Linked DNA regions of Homo sapiens: regions 2 and 3 are each linked to region 1. Evidence: promoter capture Hi-C in 16 types of primary human blood cells and fetal thymus (Javierre and others, 2016). All regions are on one chromosome and are shown on one strand. Each heading gives the region's core, a stretch centred on a gene start or on the middle of the fragment in contact. The rest is flanking DNA. Distances are from core to core; before and after follow the strand shown. Region 1 holds the start of SRPK3 (SRSF protein kinase 3). Region 2 has its middle 21 kb from the start of PDZD4. Region 3 overlaps L1CAM-AS1 (L1CAM antisense RNA 1).

Region 1 (3,596 bases), core at 1,097-3,596:
GAGGGGAGGCACAGTGGAGCGGGAGGCCCGTGGACCCTCCCGGGGGAGCAGGGGTGCCAGCCCATGCTGGCGGGGCCCAGGCTGGGGAAGGGACTCGGCTTTCATTCTGATTCCCCAGGGAGACGCCAGGCAGCCCCTGCTGGATCCCCAGGCTCCTGCGGTGATGGAAGCAGGGTGGGTGGCCCTGGGCCAGCAGGCAGAGGGGCAGGCTCAGACAGGCACCCTCCTCTGCCCGGGCAGATTATCAGTGCCCTGGAGGAGGACCCTGTGGGCCAGAAGCTGCAGCTGGCCTGCCGCCTGCAGCAGGTCGCCGCCCTGGTGGAAAACAAAGTGACTGACCTGTGAGCTCTGGCTCAGACAGCAGCAAGCCGGATCCACCAACACCGCAGCGCCTTATGACCCCGGAACCGAGCCAGCCACTGAGGGGAGCTGGCAGAGCCTGGGGGCACAGGGTGCAAAGCCAGGCACTGTGCCCAGCAGTGGGCTCCCTGCCTGCCACCTCCCCTGCCAGCCCACCCACCTTCCCCCCACCTGAGATTGTTTCTAATTTATAAGGATCCCCCTCCTTCCCCCTCTCCCCATTGTATTTATTTGCCTGCTGGAAAATCACATCCGGAAATAAAATAGAAATATGTCTTTTTATTTTATTTTGAGACGGAGTCTCGCTCTCTCTCCCAGGCTGGAGTGCAGTGGCGCAATCTCGGCTCACTGCAACCTCTTTTTCCCGGAGTTCAAGCAATTCTCCTGCCTCAGCCTCCCGAGTAGCTGGGACTACAGGCGTGTGCCACCACACCCGACTAATTTTGGTATTTTTAGTAAAGACAGGGTTTCCCCATGTCGGACAGGCTGGTCTCAAAACTCCTGACTTCAGGTGATCTGCCCGCCTCAGCCTCCCAAAGTGCTGGGATCACAGGCATGAGCCACCGCGCCTGGCCAGAAATGTCTTTTGACAAAGGGCCCAATCCCCAGCCCCTGCTGTTCCCTGCAGGAGCTGACTCAGTGCTCTCCTGACTGAGAGTCCCTCAGCCCCATGCCTATAACCTGCTACCCACAGACAAAGAGAGGCCATCAGGTACCCGGGCTTCACTTTCCCTCCCACTCTCTGACCTCGCTGGCCCCTCCAGCAATGCCTGGCCCACCCCTACCAGTTCACGGACCCTGGTACAGGGACACTGCACCAATATCTTGGGACAAACACCCTCTCTGCCGAGCCCCCTCCCTTTCATTGGGACTCCTCTGTCAGGCCCCAGCTGGCCTCCCGGCTCCACCCTCGCCTCTCCATTCCCTTGTCCTTGAAGTGGCCAGAGTGATCTTTTGCTGAGCAGAAGCTCAGTGACCACCCCCCAACCCCATATCACCCAAGCTCCACATTAAGCCTACAGACACCAGGCCTCTAGTCCTCGCCCTCGAACCATGCGGCAGCCGTGGCCAGCACGTGAAGGGCTGGAACGCGTCTTGGCCGCAGGCCTTGCCCCACTGTGCCCTGTGCTGCCCTGGATGCTTCTGGGGACCCAATTTCTCCTGGTCTCTCATGATGCAGCCCCTGGGTCACAGGCCCCTCAGTCACCACCGCACTCATGGGGAAGTGGCTATGGGCTTGCTTGTCCCCAGCAGTGAGCAGCTTCCTGCTGCCTCCCTCATGTCTGGCTATGGAGCAGCCCACGACAGGCACCTTGCAAATGGTGGAGAGGAAGAGCAGGCGCTGGGAGCCAGAGCGCCAGGCAGCGTCGCAGGAGCAGGTTCTGGGCTGGCAAGCTCCCAGGCCTCCCCTCAGCAGGCCTGTTGCCTCTGGTAGGGGAAATGAGGGGTCCCCAGTGACGCCACATTCAGAGGGCACTGGACTCCCAGTTGTCCTAGGGGCTGATGAAACATAGAAGAAGCAGGAAGTGGCTGGGAGCAGCCAGGGACAGGGTTCCCATGGGAATGAGAAGGGCACCTCCAGGAGGATGCCCACAGGGGCACAGGTGGTGGGGGCTTGGCCTAAGGACCAGGTTGCCAAGTGGAGCACATCCCCACAGTCCGCACCGGAGAACGGGAGCCCGACCTGGGGTACGGGCTGCTTCACCCCCGCGTGGACCTCCCCCTCAGCTGGGGTGCGGAGGCTCAGCCTGGGGGCCCAGTTGCCCCTGGTCCCCAAGCAGCAGCCCCCTCTGCCTCCAGGGTGGGCCTGGAGCAGGAGGGGGGCCTCTGCCCGGGGGCCGGGCTCTCTGGGGCCGCCGTCGCGCCGCCCCCTCCCCGCACCGCATACCTTGCCCACAGCCGAGCAGCTGGGAGGCTATTTATAAAGGCGGGTGAGATCAGCGGCCGGCCAAGGCTATAAATTCGCAGGCCGCGGCCGGGCCCCACAGGAGCAGCCGCCCGGGGCACCGGAGCTGCGGGCTGCGTGGCCGGGATGAGCGCCAGCACGGGCGGTGGTGGGGACAGCGGCGGCAGCGGCGGCAGTAGCAGCAGGTAGGGCTCGGCTGGGGCACCCGGAGCCCCTGGCGTCTCTCATGCCCACTGCCACTCACCCCACCCGCAGCTCACAGGCCTCCTGCGGGCCCGAGTCCTCGGGCTCCGAACTAGCCCTGGCCACACCGGTGCCTCAGATGCTGCAGGGCCTTCTGGGCTCCGACGACGAGGAACAGGAAGACCCCAAAGACTACTGCAAGGGTGAGACTTGGCCTTGGGGACATGCGGCCTCACGGCCACTGCAGGGACCCAGGGCAGTCCTGGGCCCACATGGGCCAGATGGTCAATGGGGCCGAGGTGTTCGGGGGCCCAGGGGAGTGAGAACCCCCTCCACCCCAATCTACATCTCCCCTGGGCAGGCGGCTACCACCCTGTGAAGATCGGCGACGTGTTCAATGGGCGGTACCACGTGGTGCGCAAACTGGGCTGGGGCCACTTCTCCACCGTCTGGCTCTGCTGGGACATCCAGTGAGTGCCTCCTTCGCCTCCGGGGCCCAGCACTGGCTGGGATCCTGTCCCTGGGCTTGCTTGGGGCCACCCTGATCCCCGCCGTGGGTCCTGCCAGGGCCACAGCCTACAAGGGTCTCGGTATTGCAGGCGCAAGCGCTTTGTGGCCCTCAAAGTGGTGAAGAGTGCGGGGCATTACACGGAGACAGCTGTGGATGAGATCAAGCTCCTGAAATGTGTGAGGCACCTCCCTACCCCACTCCCAGCTCCCCTGGAGCTGCCTGGGGCCTGGCAATGCGGGTGCAAGGCCTGCCGGGGCTCTGTGGGGCAGGGCGGGGCTCCCTGAGGGGCAGCCTCCAGCTGGCTGTGCCCAAGGGGGAGGATCTGGAGGAACAGGCGAGGGACAGGAGGGGTTGGCGGCCTTTCTTCCAGCAGGGCCCAGCTGGAGCAGGAGAAGGGTACACTGAAGGGAGCTGTGGGCTTCAGGGCAGGGTGGAACCATCTGTGGCCCCTTGGCTTTTGCTCCAGGTCCGGGACAGCGACCCCAGTGACCCCAAAAGAGAGACCATTGTCCAGCTCATTGATGACTTCAGGATCTCAGGAGTCAATGGAGTCCGTATCCTTTGCAGGAAGAGCAAAGCAGTGTGGCAGCCAAGGGCCGGCAAATGGGGGGGCCCTCGCTGCTAGAGCCTGTCTGC
Region 2 (3,383 bases), core at 827-3,326, 71 kb after region 1:
CTCAGGTGATCTGCCTGCCTTGGCCTCCCAAAGTGCTGGGATTGCAGGTGTGAGACACCATGCCCGGCCTTCTTTAAGATCTTATACAAATAAATTTAGCAGTTGACCATCTTCATCACTTTTACCTCTCTTCTCTTTCAGAAGTGTGAGACTATTTCAAAGTGGTGGCTTTTTCAAATTATCCCTTGTTTCTCTATTTTTTTTTTTTTTTTTTGAGACAAGATCTTGCTCTGTCGCCCAGGCTGGAGTGCAGTGGCACCATCTCAACTCACAGCAGCCTCAACCTCCCGGGCTCAAGAGATCCTCCCACCTCTGCCTCCTGAGTAGCTAGGGCTAGAGGCATGCACCACCTCGCCTCGCTAATTTTTCTTTCTTTCTTTCTTTCTTTCTTTCTTTCTTTCTTTCTTTCTTTCTTTTTTTTTTTTTTTTTTTTTGCTTTTTGTAGAGACAGGGTCTTGCTATGTTGCCCAGGCTGGTCTCAAACTCCTGGGCTCAAGAGATCCTCCTGCCTCGACCTCCCAAAGTGCTGGGATTACAGGTGAGCCCCCACATCTGGCCTCTAATTCTTTTATAACCTATTTCATTCCTTCTAATTGAGCTCCCAACAAAGGAGATTGTTTTACACACAGCTATGGCTTATCCCTTTGGTAAATTGATTTTATGGGTTCTATAGCTCAAATTAAATCAGCATCTCGATTCTCTAGGGCTCAAAAGATGCCTTGATTTGTGTCAGCTCAGGAAGGGGGCTTTTCCGGCACTGAATATGGTAGGCTTGGAGGTGCATGGCAGGTCTCTCGCCAATAGGTTTACAGAAGAGTCAGGAGGAAAGGGGAGCACTTGCTCCTTAGGCAAAGGCAGAGGGCCCATCTGATGGGAATTGGAGGGAAGGGAATATGTAGAAGGCTGAGTCAAGATACAAACAACCTGTACTGATGGAAAGCAAGAGCAAGAGCTTTCCAAGGCAAATGCAGAATAAGTAGCACCAGTCTGTATGAGAAAAGGCAAGGACAGGTCAGCCTGGCAAACAGTGACCGACATACACACACTTAACCCTAATCTCTTCCCGCCACTGCCATCTCCTCAATCTATCCATTTTGAGCCATTTGCAAAGTATCTCCTAGCTGAGAGTTTTATCCTCCTAGGCCCCCACCCCTGATTCTCTTGTTCCTGCCATCCTGCATGCCCCAGTCTCTTTGGACAATCCCTCTTCCAATGTCCTTGCTTCTTGCAATGATGACACGTGTCTTGCTTCCTTTCCTTTCTGGGTTGCCCAGAACAGGAGTTACTCCCTTTCAGTAAACAGACCTGAGCAGCTAACACAGAGTTTTTCAGTTTCTTCTTTTCTTCTTTGACTTTCTCTAGAGTCCCAAATACTGAATAGCTGCTCCTAAGCTTACATTATAGTCAGTCCTGCCATCCTACCACCTTTTCCCTTATTTGAGTTGTTGTTGTTGTTGTTGTTTGTTTTGTTTCTTGTTTTGAGACAGAGTTTTGCTCTTGTTGCCCAGGGTGGAGTGCAATGGCACCATCTCTGCTCACTGCAACTGCCACCTCCCAGCTTCAAGCAGTTCTCCTGCCTCAGCCTCCCGAGTAGCTGGGATTACAGGCCTGTGCCACTATGCCCGGCTAATTTTGTATTTTTAGTAGAGATAGGGTTTCACCATGTTGGTCAAGCTGGTCTCAAACTCCTGACCTTAGGTGATCCACCCACCTCAGCCTCCCAAAGTGCTGGGATTACAGCCTCCCAAAGTGCTGGGATTACAGGCGTGAGCCACTGCGCCCAGCCATATTGGCACTTTTTAAGCCTTGTGTTTTTTAATGTCCCGTTGACCAAAGCAAATCACATGGCCAAGCCCAGATCTGAGAGTGTGGAAAAATGGACTCTATCTCTTGCAGGGAGGAGCTGAAAGTTCCATCACAAAAGGGTATGCATCCAGGGATGGCAAGAATTTGAGGCCATTTTTGTGATCCAAGGACAGAGATTGTCCTCGGACATAAAATTCAAGGCTGGCAGTTTTTTTGTTGTTGTTGGCACATCAGATATACCATTGTCTTGTTTTCTGGCTTCTGTAGTTTGTGTTGAGAAGTTGGCTGTCAGTCAAACTGCATAACTATAAAAGTAATCAACCCACCCACCAGCTGCTTTGAATGTTTTCTCTTTGTCTTTGCTTTCCCTCAGTTTTACTATGATGTGCCTAGGTGTGGTTTTTTGTTTGTTTTATCCCGCTCTTGGTTCACGTGACTTCTAGAAACTGACTTGATATATTTCACCAGTTTGGAAATATTTCATCCATTAACTCTTCAAATATTATCTGTGCCCCATTCTTTCTCACCTTGTTTTTCTGAACTCCAATTAAGCATATATTAGGTCAAGCATGGTCGCTCATGCCTGTAATCCCAGCACTTTGGGAGGCTGAGGCAGGAGGATCCCTTGATCCTAGGAGCTCAAGACCAACCTGGGCAACATAGTAAGACCTCATCTCTACAAAAAAAAAATGAACAAAATTAGCTGGGCATGATTGCATGTGCCTGTAGTGCTAGCTACTCAGGAGGCTGAGGCAGGAGGATTGCTTGAGCTCAGGAGGTCGAGGCTGCAGTGAGTGGAGATTGTGCCACTGCCCTCCAGCCTGGGTAACACAGCAAGACCTTGTCTTAAAAAAAAAAAAAATACACGCACACACACATATATGAGACCTTCTTTCTGTATCCCCTATGTTTCTTACCTCCTTTTGCATTGTCTTTTACCACCTTTTTACCTCTCCAAGCTTTAGTCTGGCTATTTTCTTCTGATTTATCTTTCTGTTTACTATTTCTCTCTTCAGCTCTTGTATATCCCACCCATTGAGCTCCTAACTTTAATTTGTATATTTTATATTTCTAAATTTTTCACTAGATTCTTTTTGTAGTTTCAAATTATCTGCTAAATTTCTCAATTCTGTCTTTTGTTTCCTTGAATTATTAAATATAATTATTTTAAAGTCTGTATCTGATAATGCCATTATTTGGAGTCCTTGTGGCTCTATTTTTATTATATTACTTTTCTAATTTCATTTTTATTAAATTTTCTTTTCTCCTTATGACATGTTTTGTTTGTTTTTAAGACAGGGTCTCACACTGTCACCTAGGCTGGAGTGCAATCATAGCTCACTGTAACATTGAACTACTGGGCTCAAGCAATCCCCCTGCCTCAGCCTCCCAAGTGCTGGGATTACAGGCATGAGCCACCATGCTGGGCCTTGTCCTCGTTATTTTTTATTGAGTGCTGGACATTGTGAATGGAAACTATAAATCATTTGAGGCCAAGGACAATGTTATCTTCCTCCAGAGAAAATTTACATTTGTTTCTGGCAGGCAGCTGGGGCACTAGAAATCCTGATCACCTT
Region 3 (3,701 bases), core at 1,153-3,652, 110 kb after region 1:
GACAAGACTAGGCACCTGAGTGAAGACGGACGGCTAGGGAGACTGCTTCCAGAGTGGGGGCACTTGCAGGGCATCTTCAGGTGACAGCAGAGGAAACTGAGCCCGCCTGGGTCACGAGGCCAGCAGGCTCATGAGCTGGGCCAAGAGGGCGTACTTTCCATGAGGCACTGAGCTGTGGTCAGCTTCCTGCCTTTGCTGATCTGAACTCTGATAGGCCTCTCTCCTTTCCAGTTGCTGCCTCCACTCACTCCCTACGTTCCCAGCCTTTCCTCCAAGCCCCAACTTCTGCAAATCCTTTACCTAATCTAGGGTTTGATGCCCATCAGGATGGTGAAGTAAGCAGGGAATAGAGCCCGTTTATACGCACCTGCTAATGTGTAGTGATGGGTCCATTTATGGTAACAAAAAATTCATTACTAGGATTACACGACATCACATTTCCTGAGCACAGCCATGGACCTGCCATCGTTACATTTCCTGCACATTTAAATTGCACACCAACCTGGGGAGGTCTGTTGAAGCATTCGCCCCACGTTACAGATGAGAAAACCAAAGCCCACAGAGCTCAAGGCTGGGTCCAGCAAGCACAGTTAGGAAGGTCTCTTTCTCTCCACTGGCTCATTGCATCCACACACACACCCCAGATGATGGTGCTGTTATTATCCTCACTCTCCCAGTGAGGTACCCAAGGTCCAGAGAGGGGCAGTCATGCAACCAGGAAGAAATTGGCACTATCAGTGCCCCCATTTCACAGATGAGGAAACCAAGGTTCAGAGGGGTCAAATGACCCACCCAAGATAGCCCAGAAGGTAAATGGCAGAACTCGGACTTGAATTCCCTTCTGCTTGACCACGATGCCCATTCTCACTTCCATGTAATGAAGTGGAGGAGCCAATGGGAGCAAGAGCAAGAGTGACAGAAGACCAAGGGCAGAGCAAGTCCCAGGAGAAGCAGGAGGGACTGGCCCTGAACAAGAGGCAAGCCACCCCCCCACTGCCATGTGCTTGCTGTTGGAGGTTAGGGGGACACCAAGTAGACAGATGACTGTCTCTTTCCCTTCAACGTCAAGTGCTTCTCACAGCCCTGCTCCCTGTGACCCAGCCCTCATAGACACAGTGGACTGGACAAGGGAAGCCCCAGACTCTGACCCTGTGATGAGCATGCAGAAGACGCAGAAGCCACAGACGACAGTGGGGCAGTAAGGAAGTGCCAGCAGGCAGGCGGGGTGGGCTCAGCCAGACGTGTCTTTCTCTGTTCTCCTTTCAATCTTTCTGTGTCTTCATATCTCAGGTGTAGCGCTTGGAAACAGCACATAGTTGGGTTTTGGTTTGGTTTGATTCTGTCTAACAATTCTTGTCTTTTTAAAAATCAGCTTTGAGACCTGCCTGGGCAACACAGCGAGACCACGTCTCTACAAAAAAAATTTTAAAATTAGGCATGGTGGTGCATGTCTGTAGTCCCAACTACTCAGGAGGCTGAGGTGGGAGGATCGCTGGAGCCCAAGAGGTTGAGGCTACAGTGAGCCATGATCACACCACTACACTCCAGCCTGGGTGACAGAGTGAGACCCTGTCTCAAAAAAAAAAAAAAAAAAATCAACTTTATTGGAGTATAATTTACATACAGTAAAATTCATCCTTTTGAGGTTTACAGTTCAAGGAGTTTTGGTGAATGTTGTGTGCAGCCAACCACTCCCACCACCCCCTGCCCTTGGCCACCACTGATCTGATTTCTGTCTTTTCTAAATTTTATTATAAATGGAATCATACCGTATATATTCTTTTGTCTGGCTTCTTTCACACTCACGCAGCATACTTTTTGAGCTTCATCCATGTTGGTGTGTGTGTTTGTGTGTGTGTGTGAGAGAGAGAGAGAGAGAGCATGCGGGCGAGAGAGAGCAGTATATTTCCTTTTGATTGCCGAGTAGTATTCCATTGTTTGGTTGGATCAGGGTTTGTTCAGCCATTCACTCACTGAAGGACACTTGGGTAGTTTCCAGCTTTGTGTGATTATGATGGAGCAGCTCTAAACATTTATATGCAAGCTTGTGTAAATGTGTGTCTTCATTTCTCTAAGGTAACCGCTTAGGAGTGGATTGTTCAGTCAAGTGGTAGATTGATGTTGAACCTGCCTTTGTCTTTGAACTGTGCAGGTCAGCTGGTCACACGGTGATGACTGCTGCTATCTCTGGATGTAGTCACGCCAGGTGAGTATTTGCTTTCTATTTGTCCTGCTTTCCCCATCTCTCTCCCCCACCTCCACTTTATTATTTTTTATTAGTGTTGTTATTACTTTGAGACAGGGTCTCACTCTGTTCCCTAGGCTGGAGTGCAGTGGTGTGATCATGGCTCACTGCAACCTCGACCTCCTGGGCTCAAGTGATCCTCCCACCACAGCCTCCCAAGTACTGGGACAACAGATGTGCCACCACCACACTTGATTAATTTTTTTTTCTTTTTTGGTAGAGGTGAGGTCTCACTATGTTGTCCAGACTGGTCTTGAACTCCTGGGCTCAAGTGGTGATCCACTGCCTTGGCCTCACAAAGTGCTAGGATTACAGGAGTGAGTCACTGCACCTGGCCTCACCCCCACATTGTATCAGTGAAGGTGTGTCTGGAGTTGGTTCCTTCCAGTGGGTTCTTGGTCTCGCTGACTTCAAGAATGAAGCCGCGGACCTTCGCGGTGAGTGTTACAGCTCTTAAAGGTGGCACAGACCCAAAGTGTGAGCAGCAGCAAGATGTATTGTGAAGAGTGAAAGAACAAAGCTTCCACAGCATGGAAGAGGACCCAAGCAGGTTGCCGTTGCTTGTGGGGGGCGGGGGGGGGCCAGCTTTTATTCCCTTATTTGTCCCCTCCCATGTCCTGCTGATTAGTCCATTTTACAGAGTGCTGATTGGTCCATTTTACAGAGTGCTGATTGGTCCATTTACAATCCTCTAGCTAGACACAGAAAACTGGTGCGTTTTTACAGACTGCTGATTGGTGCATTTACAATCCTTTAGCTAGACACAGAGCGCTGATTGGTGTGTTTACAATCCTCTAGCTAGACAGAAAAGTTCTCCAAGTCCCCACATCACCCAGGAAGTCTAGCTGGCTTCACCTCTCAAAGGTTCAGGGTAGGAAGCAGAAATTCCTCCCGTGATCATGAACAGAAAGGGATTCTGTAGAAGGGATTAGATGCTTACCTGACCATTGGATGGGCCAAAGGAGTGGACTCTGGGCTAGGTGTTGATAACACCAGTGCAGACCTGGCTCCTCAAGGGAGCTGCTACCTCTGCCACCATCCACAAGATGGGGGATTGGGAGGCGGCCAGTGTAACCTTTGAGTTCAAAAAGACACCACCAAAGTCATGACCTGAGGATCAGCAAGCTGGGACCAGGAAGCCATTGCTGCCACAAGTGCCCCTCAACAACCAAGAAGTGAAGGTTAGACCCCAGAAATTCTTTGATGTCCAGCAGAAACGCAGCCCCACACAGCAGAAGTGTGGCTTCCCTTCCTTCAGTCATCCAAACTTCATGTGAGCACACCCAATTTGGCAATTGGCAAATTTGCCAATTTGCCAATTGGCAAAACTAAATTTGCTTCCCAAAGTCCAGCTGCTCTGGAGTCTGGAACATTTCCAGCCTCTGCCATGCAGAGCCCACAAGGTGGGAGTGAGTGCCGAGAGCTGTCAATATGCCCAGGCAGATGCTCTGCTCTT

The links. The method cuts DNA at HindIII sites, captures the fragments that hold promoters and counts their contacts. A CHiCAGO score of 5 or more calls a contact.
Region 2: a contact is called between a fragment that was not itself captured here and the fragment with the promoter of SRPK3 in region 1, in 1 of 17 cell types (M0 macrophages). The highest score is 5.2, in M0 macrophages.
Region 3: a contact is called between a fragment that was not itself captured here and the fragment with the promoter of SRPK3 in region 1, in 3 of 17 cell types (naive CD8 T cells, M0 macrophages and M1 macrophages). The highest score is 6.1, in naive CD8 T cells.

What each region holds. Positions count from the first base shown.
Region 1 is chrX:153,778,695-153,782,290 of GRCh38, forward strand. It overlaps SRPK3 (SRSF protein kinase 3), which reads left to right and starts at 2,347. Exons shown (of 15, transcript NM_014370.4): 1 at 2,347-2,451; 2 at 2,522-2,652; 3 at 2,811-2,919; 4 at 3,049-3,136; 5 at 3,427-3,514. The coding sequence starts at 2,393. It overlaps LOC124905227 (a long non-coding RNA gene), which reads right to left. Exons shown (of 2, transcript XR_007068355.1): 2 at 620-3,596. It overlaps PLXNB3 (plexin B3), which reads left to right. Exons shown (of 36, transcript NM_005393.3): 36 at 241-647. The coding sequence ends at 345. The HindIII fragment of the contact is 52,875 bases long and covers 1-3,596 here.
Region 2 is chrX:153,850,100-153,853,482 of GRCh38, forward strand. No RefSeq gene overlaps it. Among named protein-coding and RNA genes, the nearest start is that of PDZD4, 21 kb to the left of the region's middle. The HindIII fragment of the contact is 1,373 bases long and covers 1,391-2,763 here.
Region 3 is chrX:153,887,396-153,891,096 of GRCh38, forward strand. L1CAM-AS1 (L1CAM antisense RNA 1) reads left to right here. Exons shown (of 7, transcript NR_130768.1): 7 at 1,102-1,595. Among named protein-coding and RNA genes, the nearest start is that of L1CAM, 3.1 kb to the left of the region's middle. The HindIII fragment of the contact is 721 bases long and covers 2,043-2,763 here.